Linked DNA regions of Homo sapiens: all the other regions are linked to region 1. Evidence: promoter capture Hi-C in 16 types of primary human blood cells and fetal thymus (Javierre and others, 2016). All regions are on one chromosome and are shown on one strand. The core of a region is centred on a gene start or on the middle of the fragment in contact, and the rest is flanking DNA. Distances in the headings are between cores, read along the strand shown. Region 1 holds the start of NUAK2 (NUAK family kinase 2). Region 2 has its middle 14 kb from the start of ELK4. Region 3 overlaps SLC45A3 (solute carrier family 45 member 3). Region 4 overlaps NFASC (neurofascin). Region 5 overlaps NFASC (neurofascin).

Evidence for each region. Contacts are between HindIII fragments. The CHiCAGO score rates a contact against its expected background, and 5 or more counts as called.
Region 2: a fragment that was not itself captured here is called in contact with the fragment with the promoter of NUAK2 in region 1 in 1 of 17 cell types (naive B cells); the score reaches 5.3 in naive B cells.
Region 3: a contact is called between a fragment that was not itself captured here and the fragment with the promoter of NUAK2 in region 1, in 1 of 17 cell types (total B cells). The highest score is 5.1, in total B cells.
Region 4: a fragment that was not itself captured here is called in contact with the fragment with the promoter of NUAK2 in region 1 in 1 of 17 cell types (neutrophils); the score reaches 6.0 in neutrophils.
Region 5: a fragment that was not itself captured here is called in contact with the fragment with the promoter of NUAK2 in region 1 in 1 of 17 cell types (neutrophils); the score reaches 5.3 in neutrophils.

The regions. Positions count from the first base shown.
Region 1 is chr1:205,318,408-205,323,065 of GRCh38, reverse strand. It overlaps NUAK2 (NUAK family kinase 2), which reads left to right and starts at 1,321. Exons shown (of 7, transcript NM_030952.3): 1 at 1,321-1,668. The coding sequence starts at 1,438. RefSeq lists a silencer at 1,635-1,814. The HindIII fragment of the contact is 5,000 bases long and covers 1,084-4,658 here.
Region 2 is chr1:205,643,762-205,648,005 of GRCh38, reverse strand. No RefSeq gene overlaps it. Among named protein-coding and RNA genes, the nearest start is that of ELK4, 14 kb to the right of the region's middle. The HindIII fragment of the contact is 8,490 bases long and covers 1-4,244 here.
Region 3 is chr1:205,663,126-205,667,506 of GRCh38, reverse strand. It overlaps SLC45A3 (solute carrier family 45 member 3), which reads left to right. Exons shown (of 5, transcript NM_033102.3): 2 at 2,621-3,022; 3 at 3,889-4,381. The coding sequence starts at 2,851. Among named protein-coding and RNA genes, the nearest start is that of SLC45A3, 15 kb to the left of the region's middle. RefSeq lists an enhancer at 2,303-3,502. The HindIII fragment of the contact is 6,723 bases long and covers 1-4,381 here.
Region 4 is chr1:204,958,073-204,962,217 of GRCh38, reverse strand. All of the region lies in intron 8 of NFASC (neurofascin), which reads right to left. Among named protein-coding and RNA genes, the nearest start is that of CNTN2, 83 kb to the left of the region's middle. The HindIII fragment of the contact is 3,943 bases long and covers 1-3,699 here.
Region 5 is chr1:204,998,939-205,003,244 of GRCh38, reverse strand. It overlaps NFASC (neurofascin), which reads right to left. Exons shown (of 30, transcript NM_001005388.3): 26 at 1,959-2,075; 27 at 497-649. Among named protein-coding and RNA genes, the nearest start is that of CNTN2, 42 kb to the left of the region's middle. The HindIII fragment of the contact is 8,859 bases long and covers 1-4,306 here.

The DNA of each region.
Region 1 (4,658 bases), core at 72-2,571:
CCAGTACTTTGGGAGGCCGAGGCGGGCGGATCACGAGGTCAGGAGATCAAGACCATGGTGAAACCCTGTCTCTACTAAAAATACAAAAAATTAGCCGGGCGTGGTGGCGGGCGCCTGTAGTCCCAGCTACTCGGAGAGGCTGAGGCAGGAGAATGGCGTGAACCCGGGAGGCGGAGCTTGCAGTGAGCAGAGATCGCACCACTGCACTCCAGCCTGGGCGACAGAGGGAGACTCCGTCTCAAGTCAAACCTCATAACCTACCACCAGTGCTCCTGGCACCAAAATCACAAGAAAACCTTGGGTGGAGCAACCATTTTCAGACTTAGGGACACAGGTTAGATAGTCGGCATGTAAAAATGTTAAATAAATATGTATCCCTTCGGGTTCTCTCCACCTCCAGCCGACACATCCTAAATAAATTCCACTAAGTGGTTGAGGGAATCTACTAAACCTTAGAAGCCCTCTTTTTTTTTGAAACGGAGCCTCACTTTGTTGCCCAGGCTGGAGTGCAGTGGCGCCATCTTGATTCACTGAAACCTCTGCCTCCTGGGTTCAAGCGATTCTTCTGCCTCAGCCTCCAGAGTAGCTGGGATTACAAGCGCGCACCACCACGCCCGGCTAATTTTGTATCTTTAGTGGAGATGGGATTTCGTCATGTTGGCTAGGTTGGTCTTGAACTCCTGGACCTCAAGCGATTCGCCTAAGAAGCCCTCTTTGAGGAAGAAGGAAGAAGTTTCCAGGGCCATTGGATTCCAATATCCAAGTAAGGTTGATCTAACTGAAGACAAGTGAACTCGAACCATAGGACAGCTCTGCACTAACCCTCCCACTAGGCTGGATTCTGCCTCTGTTCCATCCCAGCTCCCTTTCTCCTTTATGGACTCAATGAAGTGGTCAAGCAATTATAGATTTTGGCTTGGGACAAGCAAATTACTCAGGATGAAGAAATACTTTGGTGACCTTTAGTGCCCTCAGATCGCCCCTTGCCAACTGAGAACAGAGTACAATAAAACAACAGGGCATTAAGCAGGACCAAGCGCCACTCAGAGGCAAGTGCAGCTCCAAGGGCCCTCAGAGTAAGCTTCTGGGCCTCAGGCGGCCTTCGCTGGAATCCCCTAGTCCCCATTCCTGGTGGGCGGGTTCCATTGACACCTTTCCCGGCCACGCCGAGGGGGAGGAGGCGGGGCCTGGAGCCCCGGAGAGCCAATGTGGACGGCCGTGGTCACGCGCCGCCGTCGAGCAGGCCAATGGGCGCCGGGGGGCGTGTCCAGGGCCTCGGGCTCAGGGCGTTTATAACAACTTGGAATGCTGTGCTTTACTGCGCGCTCTGGTACTGCTGTGGCTCCCCGTCCTGGTGCGGGACCTGTGCCCCGCGCTTCAGCCCTCCCCGCACAGCCTACTGATTCCCCTGCCGCCCTTGCTCACCTCCTGCTCGCCATGGAGTCGCTGGTTTTCGCGCGGCGCTCCGGCCCCACTCCCTCGGCCGCAGAGCTAGCCCGGCCGCTGGCGGAAGGGCTGATCAAGTCGCCCAAGCCCCTAATGAAGAAGCAGGCGGTGAAGCGGCACCACCACAAGCACAACCTGCGGCACCGCTACGAGTTCCTGGAGACCCTGGGCAAAGGCACCTACGGGAAGGTGAAGAAGGCGCGGGAGAGCTCGGGGCGCCTGGTGAGTGCGGCTCCCTCTCGCGGCGCGGGGCGGGCTCCGGCTTGGCCGCCGGCAGGGAGCGGAGGAGGGCGGGCGGCGGCTCGCTCGTTGCTCGGCGGAGAGGCCAGCGTGGTCTTTACCGCGCTGAGCTTGCGGGGCTACTGCGGGGTGTCCCTGGCAGATGTGTCAGTCCGTGATTGCAGGGACAGTGGTCGCAAACTTGCGAACCCCAGCCAGCAACACCGTACTGCTGTGATGATTGCCAAATAAAAGGGAGGCTATGGATAGTTGGCGCGGAAAAACGAATCGTGTCGTGTCCTGGGATAAGATGGATGGGACTTAAGTTGAGTTTTGCTGGGAAAAGACTGTTCAATAGAGTGCAATGGAAAGAGGAAGTAGAAGGCACCCCATCTTAATAGGTATTTGGTAAATATGTGTGTGGTTGAATGAATGGATGAGGTGTGGATTTCCCCAACTCCAAGAATCTGGCAACCCAGCACACTGGAGCTCTGGCACGGGGTGGGTTTTGACATTTAGGTCCTTTCCAGCTCTAAAATTTAGTTGAAATTTCATTATGATGAGTTTTTGATTCTGGAAAATGTGAAACCAGGTCCACTGTACCAGAGACACCTTTCGGTTTGGGGGCCTTTTCAAGAACATGCCCTGTTACTTTGGTGCGAGCGTAGGAGTCTAGCAGTCTGTGTGACCTTGGGCAATTTCCTTCATCTCTGTACTTTGTTTCCCCTTTTGCAGAACTGTAGAAAACACAGCCTGCCTCACAAGCTGCTGTGAGGATTGAATAAGATCGAAATATGAACTTATATTGCTCCTAACACATAGAACTTGCGGTGAGATAGCCGGGCGCGGTGGCTCACGCCTGTAATCCCAGCACTGTGGGAGGCCGAGGCGGGCGGATCGTGAGGTCAGGAGATCGAGACCATCCTGGCTAACACAGTGAAACCCCGTCTCTACTAAAAATACAAAAAATTAGCCGGGCGTGGTGGCGGACGCCTGTAGTCCCAGCTACTCGGGAGGCTGAGGCAGGAGAATGGCCTGAACCCAGGAGGCGGAGCTTGCAGTGAGCCGAGATCGTGCCACTGCACTCCAGCCTGGGCAACAGAGCGAGACTCCGTCTCAAAAACAAAACAAAACAAAACAAAACGAAACAAACAAAAAAAGAACTTGCAGTGAGAATTTCTGGAAAGGGCAGCCCAGAAAGGATGGCAAATTTGTCAAAAGTTAGTTAGCAGTGGTTAACTGGTTCTCAAACTTGAGTTTAAAGTACGTAAGGATCACCTGGGATGTTTGTTTAAAATACTTACATTCTCTGGTTCCACACCCAGAGTAATTTATTCTGAAGGTCTAGGATAGGGCCATATAATGTATATTTTAACAAGCCTTTTAGAGCAGGTGGTTTAGGCATTATTATGTTTTGCCAAATCCAGTTGGGTGCTGGTTGTGAGGGGGTGTGTGTGTGTGTGTGTGTGTGTGTGTATGGTTTGCCCTATTGGCTACATCAGCAGTTACTTCCCCAGATTGTGTTTGCTTTTGCAGCCAGTAGCTGGTTTGAAATTCAAGAAGTCATTTCATTGGTGAAGGAGAGTGGATGTTGGAGAAAGGGGTAGATTATGGCCCCATCAATAGGACCGAGTATGTTTTTCCTGCTATCGCCTGGCACAGTCCCCAGTTGCCTGCTGCCAGGTTACAGCTATTGGGCAATCATGTACTTCCTGGCTTGCCTTTTCTTTCTCTTTCTGCAAAGTGTGAGGGCCCGGTGAGGCTCCAGGCTTGAGGCTGTTGGACCCAGGCTTTGTCAGGGGCTTAGCTGGAAAATAGCTGCTGGTGGCTTGTGCTTCGTGCCTCTTGGGGGTGGAGACACTGGGTCGTGGGGACTGGGGTGGCCCAGAGACTGAGAAACTGAGATTGAAGTTCAGAGTTCCCATCAGGCTCTTGACCCAGGTCACTGTGGGGTGTGTGTGTGGATGTGCATGAGAGAGAGAGAGTAAGAGAGAGATCTCATTTGATTCCAGAATGAGATAAACTAGCTTTCAGTTTTCAAACTTAAGTGGATTTAGGCAGGGATTCCAGCTCTTATTACATCAGAAGATACTCCCTGGCCTCATGCCTCTTGCTCTATGTAGGAAGCCAAGATCAGTAGGCATGGGACCTGCTGTGAACCTCCCTGATCCATAGACCACCCAGTTCTGCAGCTGGGAACTTGCTCAGGGTCTCCTTCCTTCTTGGAGAGCAGCTGCCTGCTGTGCTAATGGTTTCTCAATTCTGGAGCATTGCCTCTTCCCCACCCCACCCCACCCCTGCCTCTTGACTGTCCTTCGTGAATCGAGAGAGACCTAGTGCCTCAGGATACTTCAGTGCGGGAGAGGGGTGTGGGAGCTTGCCCAAGACCTCCCCTAGAATGAATTGAGATTGTTGGTGGGAGCTAGATTCAGAGGAAAGCCAGCTGGGTGACTTCCATCCCAATTTTCTCTCCACCTTTCTAGCACACTTCCCGCTCCCAACCTGCCTAGATGGGATTATCAGGGCCAGATGGGATTGGCTGAGGGAAGGGCAGGTGGGCGGAACTAATGGCTGCTCTAGGAGGACATCAAAGGAAAAACAAATATTTGCTCTGGCTCTTCAATACATTCCTGGTATCCAAATGACATTTCCTCCTGGGACTCACCCAGCTCCCCTGGCCACCCCTTCCCCTAAAGAGAAAAACACATGCTGGGGTCTCTGAAATGGTGGAGTCCACCAAAGCCTTTGGATGATCTGCATGGAAGTCTTACCTCCAAGGGGAACCATTAGGGCCGTGAGTCCAAGTGTATGGTGCTCTGGAGCAAGAGTGCTTCTGTCTTTTTTATGTTTTGGAGTGCAGTGCAGGATTTCAAAATGTTTGGAAATGACTGAGGTGGTCCGAGTCCTTCATTGACAGATAGAGTAGCTGAGGCCCGAAGAGGGGAAGTGACTTATCCTGTAGCTGGTGAGTGGCATGCCTGCAATATGGGCTC
Region 2 (4,244 bases), core at 571-3,070, 320 kb before region 1:
TCTAGAATTCCAGGACCTCACTCTGTACCCCCCTCCCCCAATTGACTGTTTAGTATTTGACAGTCCCTAGTTAATGCACTCTCCTTCTTTCCATCAAGTAGTATCTGTCTACCTTCCTGTATGCTGAGCCTCATGTTAGTTCTGGGGCTGTGGCAATGAAAGACACACTGGCAGCCCAGATTTGGCACCGAGGAGGCAGACAGGGAGCAGCTGCCTGCCTGCTGAGGGACCTGATCCTGGAGAGGCTCTAGACCCAGAGAACACGGCACTGCCTGACCTCTTCTCAGTGATTTTATTACAGTGATGGGTGAAGAGTGTGGAGGCGGCTGCTACAGACTGTGCTCCTCCCCAGATTATGCTGAAACCTAACCCCCAGTGTGATGGCATTGGAAGTGGAGCCTTTGGGAGGCAATTAGGTCATGAGGGTGGAAGCCCTCATCAATAGGATTGGTGCCCTTTTAAAAGAGTTCTCTTGCCCCTTCTGCCATGTGAGGACACAGCGAGAAGATGGCCTCTATGAGCCAGGAAGCAGGCCCTCAGCAGACACTCAATCTGCCACAGCCTTGACCTTGGACTTCCCAGGCCCCAGGACTGTGAGGAATAAATACCCATTGTTTATAAGCCACCTAGTCTACGGAATTTTTTTCTTTTTTTTTTTTAGACAGAATCTCGCTCTATCGCCCAGGCTGGAGTGCAGTGGTGCTATCTCAGCTCACTGCAAGCTCCGCCTACTGGGTTCACACCATTCTTCTGCCTCAGCCTCCTGAATAGCTGGGACTACAGGTGCCCGCCACCACGCCCGGCTAATTTTTTTTGTGTATTTTTTTTAGTAGTGACGGGGTTTCACCGTGTTAGCCAGGATGGTCTCGATCTCCTGACCTCGTGATCCACCCGCCTTGGCCTCCCGAAGTGCTGGGATTACAGGCGTGAGCCACCGTGCCCAGCTATGGTATTTTGTTATAGCAGTTCAAGCTGACTAAGACAGTGAGGCGAACCCTGTTATCTTGCTTTCAGTGATAAAACTGGAGCCTGCTAAGGTGGTGTGACCTGCCCAAGGGCACACTGGTTCAGGGTTATTTTTCTTCTACCATCACCAATTTTCAAAGGTGGAGGTGAGGCTGTATAGGAAACCTTTGCATTATCTTTGCAGCTGTCCTGTAACTCTAATATTCCAAAATAAAAAGGTGTTTTTTTTTTAAGTGGAGGACTTTTGACCCGTCTCCTCACCTTCTGATACACACCAACCAACCAGTCAACCAGCCATTGCTGTTTACTGGATACCTGGTAGGTATAAGGCACCATGGTACGTACAACTATGGGGTGGGTATGAAGATGTCTAAAATGCTATCATTGCTCTCTTTGAGTTCTCAGTTTTCCCTGTGGGAAAATAAGACATGTTCAAGTGAAAAGTCCTTTTTTTGGTAATTTTTATTTTATGATTATTCTTTTTTTTATTTATTAGAGATGTGGTCTCACTATGTTGCCCAGGCTGGTCTCAAACTCCTGGCCTCAAGTCATCCTGTGGCCTCGGCCTGCCAGAGTTTTGGGATTACAGGCATGAGCCACCGAGCCTGGCCAGGAAAGTTATTTCTAACAGCACAAGACTGTTTGATAACTGCCAATAGGTACTGAGGTACAAAGTTGGGGGAAGTGGAGAGAAATGACCACTAGAAGGTTGTTTTTAAAATAGGAATAAAAATGATGATTTCCTGGCCGGGCACAGTGGCTCACGCCTGTAATCCCAGCACTTTGGGAGGCTGAGGCAGGTGGATCACCTGGGGTCAGGAGTTCAAGACCAGCCTGGCCAACATGGTGAAACCCTGTCTCTACAAAAAAAAAAAAAAAAGTTAGCTGGGGTGGTGGCGGGCACCTATAATCCCAGCTACTCAGGAGGCTGAAGCAGGAGAATGGCTTGAACCTGGAAGGCAGAGGTTGCAGTGAGCTATGATGGCACCACTGCACTTCAGCCTGGGTGACAGAGCAAGACTCCAACTCAAAAAAAAAAAAAAAAGATTTCCTTGTATGAAACAGCTGCAGAATGTTTTTGACATAATGAACTCTTGAAAGATGTGAGCACTTCAATTGATTGTACATATATTTTCCTAGCCTTCATGCATTAGCCATTAAAAAAAACCCACTAAGTCTTATTGATTTTATCTCCTACCTATCCCTCACATTGATTTTCTCATTGCCATCCTCACTGCTACTGTCATGGTTGGGCCCTTAGCATCTCTTTCTGGACTCACACATGAACCCATCCCTCTTCCTTTCTCCAGTCCCGCCTGTCCCTCCGCTGGGTCCATGCCTGTACTACAGCCTGGGTTATCTGGCCGGAGCACTGAGCTGACTACCTCATGCTTGGGCTGGCGGAGGACCCTCAGGAGACTCACGTTTCTGCATGCGACAAACAAGCCCCTTCACGTGTGGCTTTGTACACCTCTTTATCCCCTTTGCCCACCGCCTCAGCTCTCCCAGCCCCTCAAATCCTGCTTCAGCCATGATGACCTGCTTCCCTCCATTCAAGCAAACTTTGCTCTGTTGAGCCTCAGTGCCTTTGCTGTTGGCTGCATTCTCTTCATGGAGAGCTCTCTGCCTACTGAATTTGTATTTATTCTCCAACACTCAGCTTAAACATTTCTTTCTATGGCCTCTGAAGTTAATCACTCCTGCCTCAGTCTCCTTATAGCATACTGCTACTGTGGTCCTTATGTTCACTGGGCAGAAATTTGTTTGACTTCATCATCTGCTAAGTCTTTCCACATTTATTAAGCAACTACCACGTGCTGGGGCTGCGACACGGTGAAGAGACAGATGCAGTCTTTGTCCTCTTGGATGTCCCCAAGCAGTGAGGGGGCTGGAGATATGCAGAAGCAATTATAGAATGTGTCACAGTGCTGTGATGGGGGTGTGCCTGGAGGGGCCCAGTCTCAGAGGGGCCCTGGGGGATCAGAGAGGGCTTCCTAGGAGAAACGATGCTTGTTTTTTGTTTTTTAAAGACAGAGTCTTGCTCTTTCGCTCAGGCTGGAGTGAAGTGACTCTATCTCAGCTCACTGCAACCTCAGCTCCCCACCCCAGGTTGAAGCATTTCTCCTGCCTCAGCCTCCCCAGTACCTGGGATTATAGGCACGTGCCACCACGCCTGGCTAATTTTTGTATTTTTTTTAGTAGAGATGGGGTTTCACCATGTTGGCCAGACTGGTCTCAAACTTCTGACCTCAGGTGATCTGCCCACCTCGGCCTCCCGAAGTGCTAGGATTACAGGTGTGAGCCACTACGCCCAGCCATGATACTAAATTGATTTCTGAAGCCCAGGCAAGAATTTGCAATCTGGTCCTCCACCAAGATCTTCCAGGGAAAAGCTGCATCTTATTCATTGTTGTGTTGCCCCCACTCTAGCTCTGTGTTTACACATAGTAGGTGCTCATTACATTTGCTTGTTTGTTTAAATGAATTATTGGGCAAACAAAATGAATGGGCAAATGAAAACTGTATTTCTTTTGGGCAAGTGGACAACCTCAGCTTAACGCTCCAGCTTCTAATATCAGGTGGCTGGGCCTAAGATAAAAGTTGTGTTTTACTTTTGCGTATCATGTGGTTTACTGCAGTACTTTTTTTTGACCTTTAGATTCAGTTTAGTAATACTCTATGAATGATGAGTGGTTTCACAGTTTTTCAGATGAGTTTGTGGCTTTTGTTTCAGTGTGCTATAAAAAGAATAATTTTATTTAATTTATGAATATCTAGTAATTTTATAAGTAATATTTTCCTAAAAATCCTTTTAAATTTTCTTTTTCTTCTTTTATTTTTTTGAGACAGAGTTTTCACTCTGTCACCCAGGCTGGAATGCAGTGGTGTGATCTGGGCTCACTGCAATCTCTGCCTCCTGGGTTCAAGCCATTCTCCGGCCTCAGCCTCCCGAATAGCTGGAATTACAGGCATGTACCACCATGCCCAGCTAATTTTTGTATTTTTAGTAGAGATGGGGTTTCACCAAGTTGTTCAGGCTTGTCTCGAACTCCTGACCTGAAGTGATCTGCCTGCCTTGGCCTCCCAAAGTGCTGGGATTATAGGCGTGAGCCACCGCGCTTGGCTTAAAATTTTCTTAATGTTAAAAAAAAAAAAAAAATAGCTGGGCGCAGTGGCTCACGCCTGTAATCCCAGTACTTTGGGAGGCCGAGGCAGGCGGATCACCTGAGGTCAGGAGTTCGACACCAGCCTGGCCAACAATGGTGAAACCCCGTCTC
Region 3 (4,381 bases), core at 1,165-3,664, 340 kb before region 1:
TGAGATGGAGTTTCGCACTGTCATGGGGCTGGAGTGCAGTGGCACAATCTCGGCTCACTGCAACCTCCGCCTCCCAGGTTCAAGCAATTCTCCTCCTTCAGCCTCCCGAGTAGCTGGGATTGTAGGCGCACGCCACCATGCCCAGCTAATTTTTGTATTTTTAGTAGAGATGGGGTTTCACCACGTTGGCCGGGCTGGTCTCGAACCTCCTGACCTCAGGTAATTTGCCTGCTTTGGCCTCCCAAAGTGCTGGGATTACAGGCATGAGCCACTGTACCTGGCCTATTTTATTTTTATTTTTGTAGAAACAGGGTCTTTCTATGTTGCCCAGGCTGTTCTTAAGCTCCTGCCCTCAAGCCATCATCCCACTCCAGCCTCCCAAAGTGCTGAGATTACAGATGTGAGCCACTGTGCCTGGCCTGCAATTTATTTTAAACAATAGGGAGCAGCCAGGACTTAGAGAATGGGTGCAGGTTATAGGCGAGGCTGGGTCTAACAAAGTCTCTGTTTGCTCAGGGAGGACCTGGTCTCCTGAAAACCCAGAGCAGGTTAGCATTCAGGGCCCTCCCAGAACAAGGGTGGGGAGTGGAATGGGCTGGAAGCCTTTGGCCGCAGAACCCCTCCCTTTAGGCTGGATAGCACTGCCTCTTGGTCTCTGTGCTGTCTCCTGCTTTCCTTCTTGGGGGTACTGTGGAAATGCAGCAATGAGATGCTCAAGTTGAACCTATGACAGCTCAGCTAAGACTGAGGTCTGGCCTTCCACCTTCCTTTTGGAGACAGTATGGGTCAGTATTTTACACCCCTTCTCATGCCACCTCCGTAGGAGGCCGTGTGCCCCATCCCAAAGGGTGAGTCTGAGCAGGATTTAGGGGAGGAGGCTGCTGGTTGCCCAGCCTTATCTCAATTCCCTTCCTTCATGATCTGCCAGCTGCAAAGCCCCTGAAGGTGGTGGTGGAGTGAACAGACCTTACCCAGGACTGATAGCCATCTGATGTTTTTTTAGGCAGTGTCTCCCTCTGTCACCCAGACTGGAGGCAGTGGTCCAATCACTGCGCGCTGCACCCTTGACCTCCCAGGCTCAAGCAATCCTCCCATCTCAGCCTCTTAAGTAGCTGGGACCACAGGTGCATACTACCACGCCTGGATAATTTTTAAATTTTTTGTAGAGAGGGGGTCTCGCTGTGTTGCCCAGGCTGGTCTCAAACTCCCAGGCTGAAGTGATCCTCCTGCCTTGGCCTCTTGAAGTTCTGGGATTATAGGCATGAGCCACCACACTCAGTCCTGGCTGATTTCTCTGTGGCACAGCTCAGAGCACCCACAACACGCTTTGTAATATGCAAGGCCCCATGGGGTTTAGTATTGTGTGAAAAGATAAGATAAGTTGAAATGCCTTTTATAATGAGGTGCTGAGATTGGCAGAGGGCATGAGTAGGGGCTGGGGGTGGTGGAGGCACCTGCCACCATGCCTGGCTAATTTTTGTATTTTTAGCAGAGATGGGGTTTCACCATGTTGGCCAGGCTGGTCTTGAACTCCTGACCTCAAGTGATCCGCCTGCCTTGGCCTCCCAAAGTCCTGGGATTACAAGCATGAGCCACCGCACCCAGCTTTTCATAGTCACTTCTAAGCAGAGGCTTAGATACTGCAATGGCTGTATTGTCGGGAAGCAAGACTTGGAGACCGCTTGCTTGGCGGGGGAGGTACAGGATGGTTCTTTCTGCACAGGAGGCAGGGCTAGCAGGAAGGGGTGTGGGACTTCTCTGCTGAAAATTGAAAAGAGCACCGAAAAATTCCTTTCTCTGCCATTTAAGAGCACAGAAAGGCTGCCCTGGAAGTGGCTGGGCATCCTGTCAGCTTGGGGGAGTCACTGGTATCATTACAGGTATTGCCAGGTGGTGTGGTTTCATGCCCCTGTGAGCTAGAACCTGGGGACGGCTCCACTCTCCCATGACAGTTGGACGGCCATGTGAGGGATTGTTTCTTCCCCTTGAACGTTGAACTCAGGGAGAAACTCAAGGGAGAGATTTTCAGGCCTAGGCTCACCCCAGGGAGCCTTCTGTAAGTTAAAACCCAACCCAACAAAACAGCCTCTCCTCCCTTTCCCCTTCATCCTGGTCTTTGGGGTTAGGGGTTGTGGTGCAGTGTGGCTCATGGCCAAGCAATGCAGAATAGGAAGTGTTACTCTTAACAAAGGGGAATTGAACACCCCAGGTTTGGGGAGTAGAAAGACAAAAGCAAACAAACCAGGCCTGGCAGAGGGTCTCCAGGGGCACCTTGATAGCTGGGCAACTAAAAATTCAGTTGGTTTGATTGCTCCCTCCCGCTCCCCAATACTAACAGGGAAGGGAAATTGTAGATTTTTCAAAACAGAGAATAACCAACATCTGTTTGGCTCTGGAGTGTGCTGAGGTTTAAAAAATCATATTTACCTTATTAATTATGTCAGCCGTAGGCTAATATTAACATGCATTTCCTGACTGGGCAGAAGGGGGTGGCACCTCGGTGACAGGGCCAGTCGCCAGCCTGTGAATGATCAGGATCCAGACAATTTAGAGCAAATCGTGGAGACCTGGCTCCCAGGACTTAACACCCCGTGTGCTTGTGATTGCCCCGCCCTTCTAGGATCTGAGTGATGAGACGTGTCCCCACTGAGGTGCCCCACAGCAGCAGGTGTTGAGCATGGGCTGAGAAGCTGGACCGGCACCAAAGGGCTGGCAGAAATGGGCGCCTGGCTGATTCCTAGGCAGTTGGCGGCAGCAAGGAGGAGAGGCCGCAGCTTCTGGAGCAGAGCCGAGACGAAGCAGTTCTGGAGTGCCTGAACGGCCCCCTGAGCCCTACCCGCCTGGCCCACTATGGTCCAGAGGCTGTGGGTGAGCCGCCTGCTGCGGCACCGGAAAGCCCAGCTCTTGCTGGTCAACCTGCTAACCTTTGGCCTGGAGGTGTGTTTGGCCGCAGGCATCACCTATGTGCCGCCTCTGCTGCTGGAAGTGGGGGTAGAGGAGAAGTTCATGACCATGGTGCTGGGTGAGTCACTACATCCTCCTTCCTTCCTGTTCCAGATACATGCCACCTGGCATGTGGGACAGGAGTACCTCTGCCCTGGGAGCTGCTTGGAGGGAGAGGTGGTCTGCTGGGAAGGCATTGCTGGGCAGGAGGGTGACCCTGGGCTGAGGGGGCACACCAAGAGAAAGAAGAGAATACCAAGGACATACCCCAGTCACCTCTGGATCCCTGGTCCTGCACAGAGCCTGGCTCATAGGAGACACTGGAGAAATGCTCCTAACCTTTGGCTAGCCCTTTTATAATTTATAGCGATTATCTCATTTAATGCTTACAACCACCATTTGAGGTGATCCATTTTACAGAGAAGGAAGCAGAGGCTTTTAAGAGGTTAGGTAAGTCTTAGCCAAAGCCAAATAGCAGCTGAACAGTAGAGCTGGGACTCCATCAAGGTCTCCCAGCCGGAGCTTGCTCCTACCCCTAGGACAAGGGGTGGACTCCTGACTCTGCAGATAAATTCTACAAAAGCCACAGAAGGCAAGTAGTAACCATTGTGTGACAACCCCTCACCCCCAGGAAGAGGGGCCCCTGTGAGGATTGCAGGCTCTGGAGTCACACTGCTTGTTGAAACGCTGCCTCTTACCCTCCCTAGGTCTGCGCCTTTGAATAAGTATCACTTCTTAGTTGCTCCATGCCTCAGTTTGTCCATCTGAAAATGGGGGCATCTGTAATGCCTGTGTTATGAGGAGTAAATTACAGCATCCCTGTGAAGACGTAGCACAGTGTCGAGTACGGAATGTTATTTCCATCCTTCTCACGGAGCTTGGTTCCCCTTCCCCTTGCCCTTTACTTGTCCCAGCCATTGACTCATACTACTTCCCTTCTTGCAGGCATTGGTCCAGTGCTGGGCCTGGTCTGTGTCCCGCTCCTAGGCTCAGCCAGTGACCACTGGCGTGGACGCTATGGCCGCCGCCGGCCCTTCATCTGGGCACTGTCCTTGGGCATCCTGCTGAGCCTCTTTCTCATCCCAAGGGCCGGCTGGCTAGCAGGGCTGCTGTGCCCGGATCCCAGGCCCCTGGAGCTGGCACTGCTCATCCTGGGCGTGGGGCTGCTGGACTTCTGTGGCCAGGTGTGCTTCACTCCACTGGAGGCCCTGCTCTCTGACCTCTTCCGGGACCCGGACCACTGTCGCCAGGCCTACTCTGTCTATGCCTTCATGATCAGTCTTGGGGGCTGCCTGGGCTACCTCCTGCCTGCCATTGACTGGGACACCAGTGCCCTGGCCCCCTACCTGGGCACCCAGGAGGAGTGCCTCTTTGGCCTGCTCACCCTCATCTTCCTCACCTGCGTAGCAGCCACACTGCTGGTGGCTGAGGAGGCAGC
Region 4 (4,145 bases), core at 479-2,978, 360 kb after region 1:
TTAGGCAAACTGGGGTTAGCACAGGCAAGGTTACTCCCAAGGTTACCGCTGCGACTCACCACTGTACATGTCAGGGTGGTTTCTTAAGGACGAGTCATTATAAGGGTGGTCTGTAACAAACAAAAGAGGGTGAGCAAACAGGAGGCCACGGAGAAGTCACAGAGGCATAAACGGGGAGAGAAAACAAATGCAAAGCCAGAAAAACAACTGAGGAGGGCAGCAGTGGTCTTTTGCAAAGGAAAGACACGGCATATTTGGAAAGGCAATACGCTCAGTGAAGAACAAGCAACACAAAACAGCCCACAAAAGGAGAAAAAAAGGTTAAATCCTGCAAAAGAAGGCAATAATACAGTAATGGTTTTTTTAAAATTAAAGAAATTAGGTTTGAACTTTAATTAATTGGTCCTGCTATATTTTCAAACAAATGAGAGAAGGATTAGTGGTGTCCTGTAGCCATCTTTTGAACAACTCCTTCTTATCAAAATCCTCAGTTCCCAGGACTCTGGGTCAGGCTAGCTCTTGGAGCAGCTAAAGAGAAAGGAGTGTTAGTGAGCTCCGGGGAAGAGCAAAGTGCTGCCTGGGCAGAAGCTAAGCTGCAGGAGGTTGGTGGTAAATGGGAGGAGGTCATTGACCAAAAGAGTTGGGCCAAGGGGCCCTGGCCACACCCAGCAACATGTGTCACTGGAGTCTGCCCAGGTGGGCACCACTATGATCTTGGAGATGTCTCTGTTGGCAGAAAGCCCTCCTTGTGAGGATGCCGGGAGAGGTTCAGTGAGGTGGGGAGAACATCCCTGAGGTTCAGGCTTTAGAATTTAGAATTGGAGCTTGGGACAGGAGAAAGTGCAAGCTGTGAGTTCTACATTTCAGACTAGGAAAGTCCTCCTGAACGTTCTGGAGGTTCGAAGCTCTCTAGACTATGCAGGATTGAAGACATTCCTTATGGAGCAAGATCAGTGGCTTCAGTTCCAATGTTAGGTAATTCAAACTCGTGGGCATTTACTCCTTAATGAGAAAGACATTTCAGAAGAGGACACATCATCACGCCAGCGTCCTGAAGGAGCTTTTCCCTCTCTACCTCTGGTCCCTTCCAGCAACTGGGTTCAAATTGTGACAGTACTAAAAGGGGGTGGGGTATACAGCTGACTGGAAGCCAAGCAGATGGCCCTGAGGAGGCAAGAACATGGTCCAACTGCTCGAGGGACAACAGGGGCTCTGCCAAAACATTTGCATATTTGTCGACAGATCCAATCCCATTACAACTAGTTGCAAGAAGTATGAGAGTCCTTTTCTGGGACTGGCATTGCATTGCATCCCAAATCTGCTTGCCACCTGGTAGGAAGATTTTCATTATTCAGAACTCTCTCTTAAGATGGGGTTTGTTGTAAAGACCCAGCCTGTTTGGGAAGTCTGCTTGGGTCCATCTGGAGCTAAAGGCAGGAATAAATCCACAATGTAACGAAGAGATGGGGTGGCCCAAGGGCAGGTGGGGGCTGCAGCTGGGCTTGGGAGGCAACTCTGTTCCTCTCCTGGGGGTGGATGGTGGCACATACAGATGACAGGGCCCTTCCTTCATGCTCCCATATCACCAGGTGAAATGTAACCTATCTCTCTCCAGAGAAGTAGCCCACGCCCAGAACTGACCTCGTGGTTTGTGAATTCTGGAGCACATGTGAGAAATTCACGGAAACTTCTTTGACTGCTCCAAGAATGTCACTTAGACACTGGAGGAAGAAGGGGTGTGCCCTGGTGTCTGCCTTAGGGAGGACCCTCCTCGCTTACCACAGTTGCCTCTTATTGCATCAGGAGGCACCCAGCACCTGTTACAGCATAGGCAGAGTGGGACGGGCCCAGCTCTGTAGCCCAACTCCACTGCTTATCTTTGACTGCATCCCAGGTTTTAAAAATGATTTCAGATTACCCAGTATTTTGCATTACATACCATTGTCAACTTCCTTCAATGCAGGTAATAAAAATGGGACATGATGAGATTTATTTCTTCCCAAATGGGCAAACTGTGACAGGAGTGCCTGGTGAGAATAGGGCCTTTGAAGCTGCCCCTGCCTGACTGCTTTGCCTCCCACCCCAGACCTGGTTCTGAAGGTACAAGAGAAAGCCTGTGTCCTCTCCAGACAGGAAAGTAGAGAGAGCACCACTGTGCTATTTTAAGCAAGTGTGCCCAATTCTGGGCTGGCTCAGATGCCCAGAACTTGCTCCCAGCCAGAGCTGCCCCTGGGAGAACTCCAGGAAGCTGATGGGGCTCTGTTCCAATCACCTAGGGGGTCTCTCGCCATTCGGAGGAAAGAGTTTTCAGTGGAATAGAGGACCTAGAAATGAAGAATTAACAAACATCCCTTACTTCTTCTGGTAGAGAAGAGTGTTTCTGGAAAGTCCAAGTTCTACATGTTGTTTAAATCTCTAACTGCAGAGGAAGTTAGTTAATTCTACAGAGGAAGACTCTTCACCACCTCAGTCTCTTGGCCTCTGCTCTACTCTGTGTGACAGTGATGGGCTCTGCCCAGGATGACAGAAGGTCAACTGACTCAGTTCCAAAAGCAGCAGGCCGATTTCTAGCGTCGTCTGGGCAAGGAGAGAGGGGCCCTGGTGGTGATGCTGATGGCTGTCCAGGCTCAGCTCAGCGAGCATGTTATCTTGTTCTTGACATCCCTGCTCCTCCCCCTGCCAATGCTGTTAGTCCTGTCCTGGCTGCTGAGGCCACTCCGAGGTCCTGGGCAGACTACACTGTCCTTCCCAGCCCAGCCAGCTGGCAGGCAGTCACCCTGATGTGGACTGAGGAGACACTGCAGACAAACCAACTTTCTCCTCCAAGGGGTCTCCCTGGGCTTGGGTCAGGAATGAGAAAGTCAGGGACGGGGGAGCAACTGGAGTGAAGCCAGGTCACCCTGCCAGGAACTCGAGGGGCTTGCTGCAGGTGTCAGGCAACCTGCCGGCTACCACCTTTGGCAGCCCAGCACCAACACAGATCAGTGTGTGGGGACACTGCAAGGCAGGAGGCGATGATTAGAGGAGGGCAGAATGGAGTTCCAAGACAGAACAGAGAGATGGAAAAGAAGAAAGAAAAAGAAAGAGGGAGGAGAAATAAAGAAGGAAGTGAAAAAGAAAAAGGAAGAAAATGAAAAGGTGAAAGAAAAAAAAAAACATGAGAAGGGGAAGAGAAAAGGAAGCTGCTTCCTTTTGGATCCACCTCTGTGCCATGGTGGAAATGGAGCATGGGGCTGTGTTGGCTCTCAGGACCACCAGCCTCTGCCATCAGCAGGGATAGGGAGGAAGGAAGAGAACGATAATGGTCACACCCCCTACCTGTCCTGAATGAGAAGTGATCTCACCTGAACCTCTCCTGACCCACACCCACCCGGGGAGCCATTGTTCACCACCTCTGCAGGGGCTCCAGGAAGCCAGGGTCAGCCTATTTTTTCTGACCTTTGCAAACTGCCAGCACCCACATGGTGCTCTCTACTGGCCTCCCCAACAATCCTCACTGTCCAGAGCATCAGAAACAACACTCACAGCATGAGTCAGACTAAGGTCTGTTTTTTGGGGGGCTCCTTTATGGAAGGCGTGTTACAAATCCATGGTGTACATCAACATAGACAACTTCCAACGTCCTGAGTGGGCTGAGACTTTGCAGCAAAAGCTCTAGGCTGCCTCGTCCTTGCCAAGAAGAACATTTCTGACTAAGCTTCTCTCTCTCCTCAAGGGAGAGCCACCAACACTATAATGGGTCGGGAAATGCTGATTTGCTTTTGTACCAGCCAAACAGAATCAGGGAATAGAAACGAAAACAAATAAAACTCAAACATAAGCCTGCAACTTACAAACATAGCGATTCCATATGGTTCAGCATATACATATTACAGAATCAAATAAAATTTATTTTGGTGTCTCCACTAATTTTCATATTTTCTGCTATGGGTTTCTTATACAAATAAAGATAACCAAGCAATGAGAAGAAATAAAAGAAATAATCAAGCTGTGTCCGGAGAGGGGTTCTAGATGACCACTGGAAGCAGTGGTTCTCAAACTCTGGGGTGCACTTGAATTACCTGGAGGGCTCATAAAGAACAAAGAGGCTCAGGGCTGTTGAGGTACGATAGGCTGGTTCTGGGTACGCTGCCAGGTTCTAAGGT
Region 5 (4,306 bases), core at 1,408-3,907, 320 kb after region 1:
GAAATTTTTAACAATAGATGATGGTGGCAAGGGAGTAACAAATGCACTGATCTCCTGGAGCGATTTCTAGATCAAGGCCCTGCGCTGGCCCTATCCCCTGATCCTGCATGAAGGGAGCCAGCCCCTGTGCGCACAGGCCAGGCTGCACTACTCTCCTGCAGCCCCCAGACCCACAGACAGTGACCAAATGTGCACACACACCAGGCAGAGCAGGGGGCTAAGTGTTCTCTGTTGTCATTAAACATCCTTTGTTTCCTTCTGACCCGCACGGGGCCACAATCACTGTTTCCTCTCCACTACGCATGCACACTGGGCTCCTCTAGGCTTCCTGGGAGCCTTCAGCTGATACATAATAAGAGCTGAGACACGCCATGCAAGGTGGGAAATGGGGTGGGGGATGAGTCTTCTTTCCGAGGAGAGAGGCAAGCAGGAAGCTGAGGATGAGAATGAAATGCCCCATGCTTGCAGGGGATGGCCAGGCCAGGTCCCCTCTCACCTGTACTGGTCATAAAGGTGATGACGGTACTGCTGATGCCCTCGTTGTCCCGGGAATAAACCCGCAACGTGTATGTCATCCCGGGATAGAGGTCTGTCAGCTGTATAGGCTGAGCCTGGGCCTTAACTGGGACAGTTTTTTTCGTATGGTTGCCTGGGGAACAGAAACCTCAATCAGCCTAGAGCCAGGCACCAGGAGCTGGAGAGCCAGTGCTTAGGTCCTGGTCACCTGTCAAAGGTAGAAAGTGTGGGGGAAGGGACCAGGGAACCGCGGGTCCAGTCCACCATACAGACCAGGAGGTTTCCAGGCAGCTTCCCTATGCCTGTCTGTGCAATACTAACGCTTTTAAACGACCCTTCAGCTGGGGACACCGTTCCCTCTCCTGAAGTTCGCTTTCCTCACCACAGTCTTCACACTAGACATATTATAACCTACTTCCTTAAACTCTCAGCTTGTCAGCAGATGCTCTGTTGCCCTGGAAGCGATTAACTTTTCACATGGATCTGGCTGGTGAGGGCCAAAAGCCAGTTAGCATCCCTCCTGAAAACCAGAGATGAGCTGGGACTCTGTCTCTTGGCTCTCATTCCTAGTTTCACCTCTCATTTCTCACCATGTGGTGAATTCCCACATCAGAAAAAGTGTGTGCCTGTGCATGTAGGCTGTAGGGTGAATAGGGGTAGTAGGAGCCTGAAAAAGTATGGACCAAACTATGGAGTCCAGGTGCTGTGGATGTGAACTCCTCCTCCAACCAGAGAGAACTAAGTCAGCTTTGCTCTCTCCTGAGAGGGTCTTTGGGTAGGCTATCCCAGGTGGATTTGCTGGCTGGGTTAGTTGGCTTAATTGCTTAGAGCACATACTGAAGATGCCAGGATGGTGGGTTTGACCCTGTAGGAACAGGGTCCTTCACTCAGGGGCCACACTCTGCAGTCCAACGAATCTGTACCCTTGGTCCCAAGCTCCAGCAAAGGGTGAGCAACTCAGCTCAAGCCACCAGCTGGGACAAATGGCTCTGGTCTGTGGCTCTGACTGGGGGCCGCTGGCATTCCTCTGGGAGCAAAGCAGGGTTATAGTCCAAGTCTGTGAACTGGCTCACCCAGTCAAGTGGAGCCTGAGTTAAGGAGATCAATGCAGAGGACAGATTTGGCTCATTTGGGGGCTATTCAGAACCCTCATCCTGGGCAGGAAATGAATGAAGGGCCCCTTTACCCAGGTCCTCCACAGACATGCAATCCTAGACTTCCACTAATGGCTTGAGAAGCCCCCTTCCTTTTCCTTGAGCCTGTTCCTCCCACCTCACTGCCGCCTGAGTGCATATCGATTTCATTAAGCCATAATTAAGCCAGGCTAAAAGGCCTCTCTGAGCCTGGGGGAGTTCACAGGAGCTCTTTAATGGCATCTACCACTACCCGCCGCTGCTGCCGACGCCGCTGCCGCCACCACCACCCCGCACAGCAATGCTTACTGTCGATGTACTCAACCACAAAGTCAGTTCCGGGCCCGAAATTGTGCTTCCAGGTGATGTTGGCCCATTTACTGTTGGGGAGCACCGTGACGTTCCATATGGACTGCTCATCAGGGGCTGGTGGACGGGTTAGAAAAGGGGTTAGTGATGAGGAGGGAGTGGCACCAGAGATATGGAGACACACACATACACACAAGCGTGTGCATGCACGCACATGCCCACACTCGCGCACGCACACATGTACACACAGTCATCTAGGAAAGGGGAGAGTCAGAAATGGCTGTGCACAGGGCCTGACAGAGCTCCAAGCTGCAGCCTTGGTGGCCAGGCCAGAGGTCGCTGTCCAGGGACAAGCAGGTACAGTCGGGAGGACTTCGGAGGGAGAGCTGGAAACTGACTGTGTCCACATAGGTAGCGTTAGGAATGAAAGAGTTTTTTTGTTTTCTGTTTTTTTTTTTTTGAGATGGAGTATTGTTCTGTTGCCCAAGCTGGAGTACAGTGGTGCGATCTCGACTCACTGTAACCTCCACTTCCCAGGTTCAAGCGATTCTCCTGCCTCAGCCTCCCAAGTAGCTGAGATTACAGGCCCCCGCCACCATGCCCGGCAAATTTTTGTAGAAAGAGTGGGTTTTGATCTGTGCCATTTGAGGCTTTAACCTGGACTTATTCCCTTTTCAGATCCCTTGTCATGTCAACAGTGTAAGGAAAGGGGCCAGGAAAAAGGCCGTGTGGCCAGGAGGAGGAGGCCACACAGAGAAGATGTGTGCCAGCCCCTTCCCCTTCAAGCATAGAAGTGCTGCAGGAAGGAGAGGGTTATCTTTAAGAGCCGCGAGTCTTGATGAGATTTGCAGGAAGGATGGACTTTTGAAGCTGGAGGAGAATGGTGATCCAGACAGGTGAGGCTGGTCTAAGGAGCCCCTTGGGTTGTCCTTGGTCAGAGAGAAGCCTGGCTGATAGGTCTAACAGCTTCAGATTGTCTAAAGCCTAGAATCTCAGGGGCCCAAGTAAAGACAATGTGAAGCCTTCCTCTCCCTCACGTGGACTAGGTGCGACCAAGAGAAGATAACTCCTTGACAACCAGCCCTCAGTGGTCCAGACACCAGAAGAATCCTGTTCTGTTGGCGTCTCAGCACCACCGAGTTTTTGATGCCTGATCTCTATGCAACACAGAGGACATTAATTATCAAGTTCCTATGAGCTGGGAGCCACTTTATCAAAGCCATGGTGCTGTCTGAAACCATAGCCTGTGTAGAGGAGAATGGCACTAATCTTCAAACGTAATCATTTTGCAAGAGTCCCAGCAGTCTGGTTACCCCATTTTCCAGCAAAGATTTAATAGTGGAGTACTTGCATGAAGCCTCGTATTTCAAAGACTTTACAAGTGTGGCTGCTGTATATTTTATTAGCATGCAAGGGGGCACTGTCACCAACTCACTTGTCAAAAATAAATGAATAGAGTGCATTGGCGATGCATTTATTCATTATCTATTTGACATGTGACTGAGCCTGCAGGGCTGGGGAAGTGATAAAAGATCTCCTGGTTTTCACTTCAAAGAGGTGCCTTCTGCACTACAACTCTGTCAGGCGTTGGTTGCCCCAGGTGAATATGATTCATATTAAGTGAGGGACCAAGAAAGTGATTCCATTGATGGCACCGTGGGGAGGGGAGAAGGTAGGCTTCTTTGCCTGTCTGCCAGACGCTTCAATTGTACTGGCCACTTGAAGCCATCCCAAATTCCAGCTCCTTAGAATTTCATGGCTCTTGCTGGTGAGAATGAATTGTGATTAGTCATTATTTGGGGACTTGAGTTTCTTCCTCCTCAGCTCTGAGCCCTGTAAATAGCTAGAGAATTTGTGTTTAAACAGTCTGGCCACCAATATGAAATTGACTCAAATCTGGCTGTTTTAAAGGCAATGAAGATTGGGGTTCTTTTAGAAAAGGCCAGGCAGTGGGAAGCCAAGATGATTTAGAGGTGGGAGCTGGAGGAAGGCATTGCCACAGAGAGATCAGGATGATGACCCGGAAGCACTAAAAAGTTCAAAGAGAAGGACCAAGCATGTGAAATATCAACACCGAGAAACACAAAAAGGGTCAGGGAGGGGAAGCATAGATTGTCTCACTGACTCCTGGAATGTAAGAATTAAGGAATCTCCCTGGAAATCTGAAAAAGACAGGCGAAGGACAAATAAAAAGGCCTATTTCACCCTGAGAAGAGTAAACTTATGAAACATCTTTTTCCAAGATGTAAGGCACGATAAAGGTGAACATTCATTTTTAAAGTCCTAGACAGCCATTCTGCTGAAGTGAGGTGAGGATGGTTGAGGGGTGTTCCCAAGGTCTAGATAAG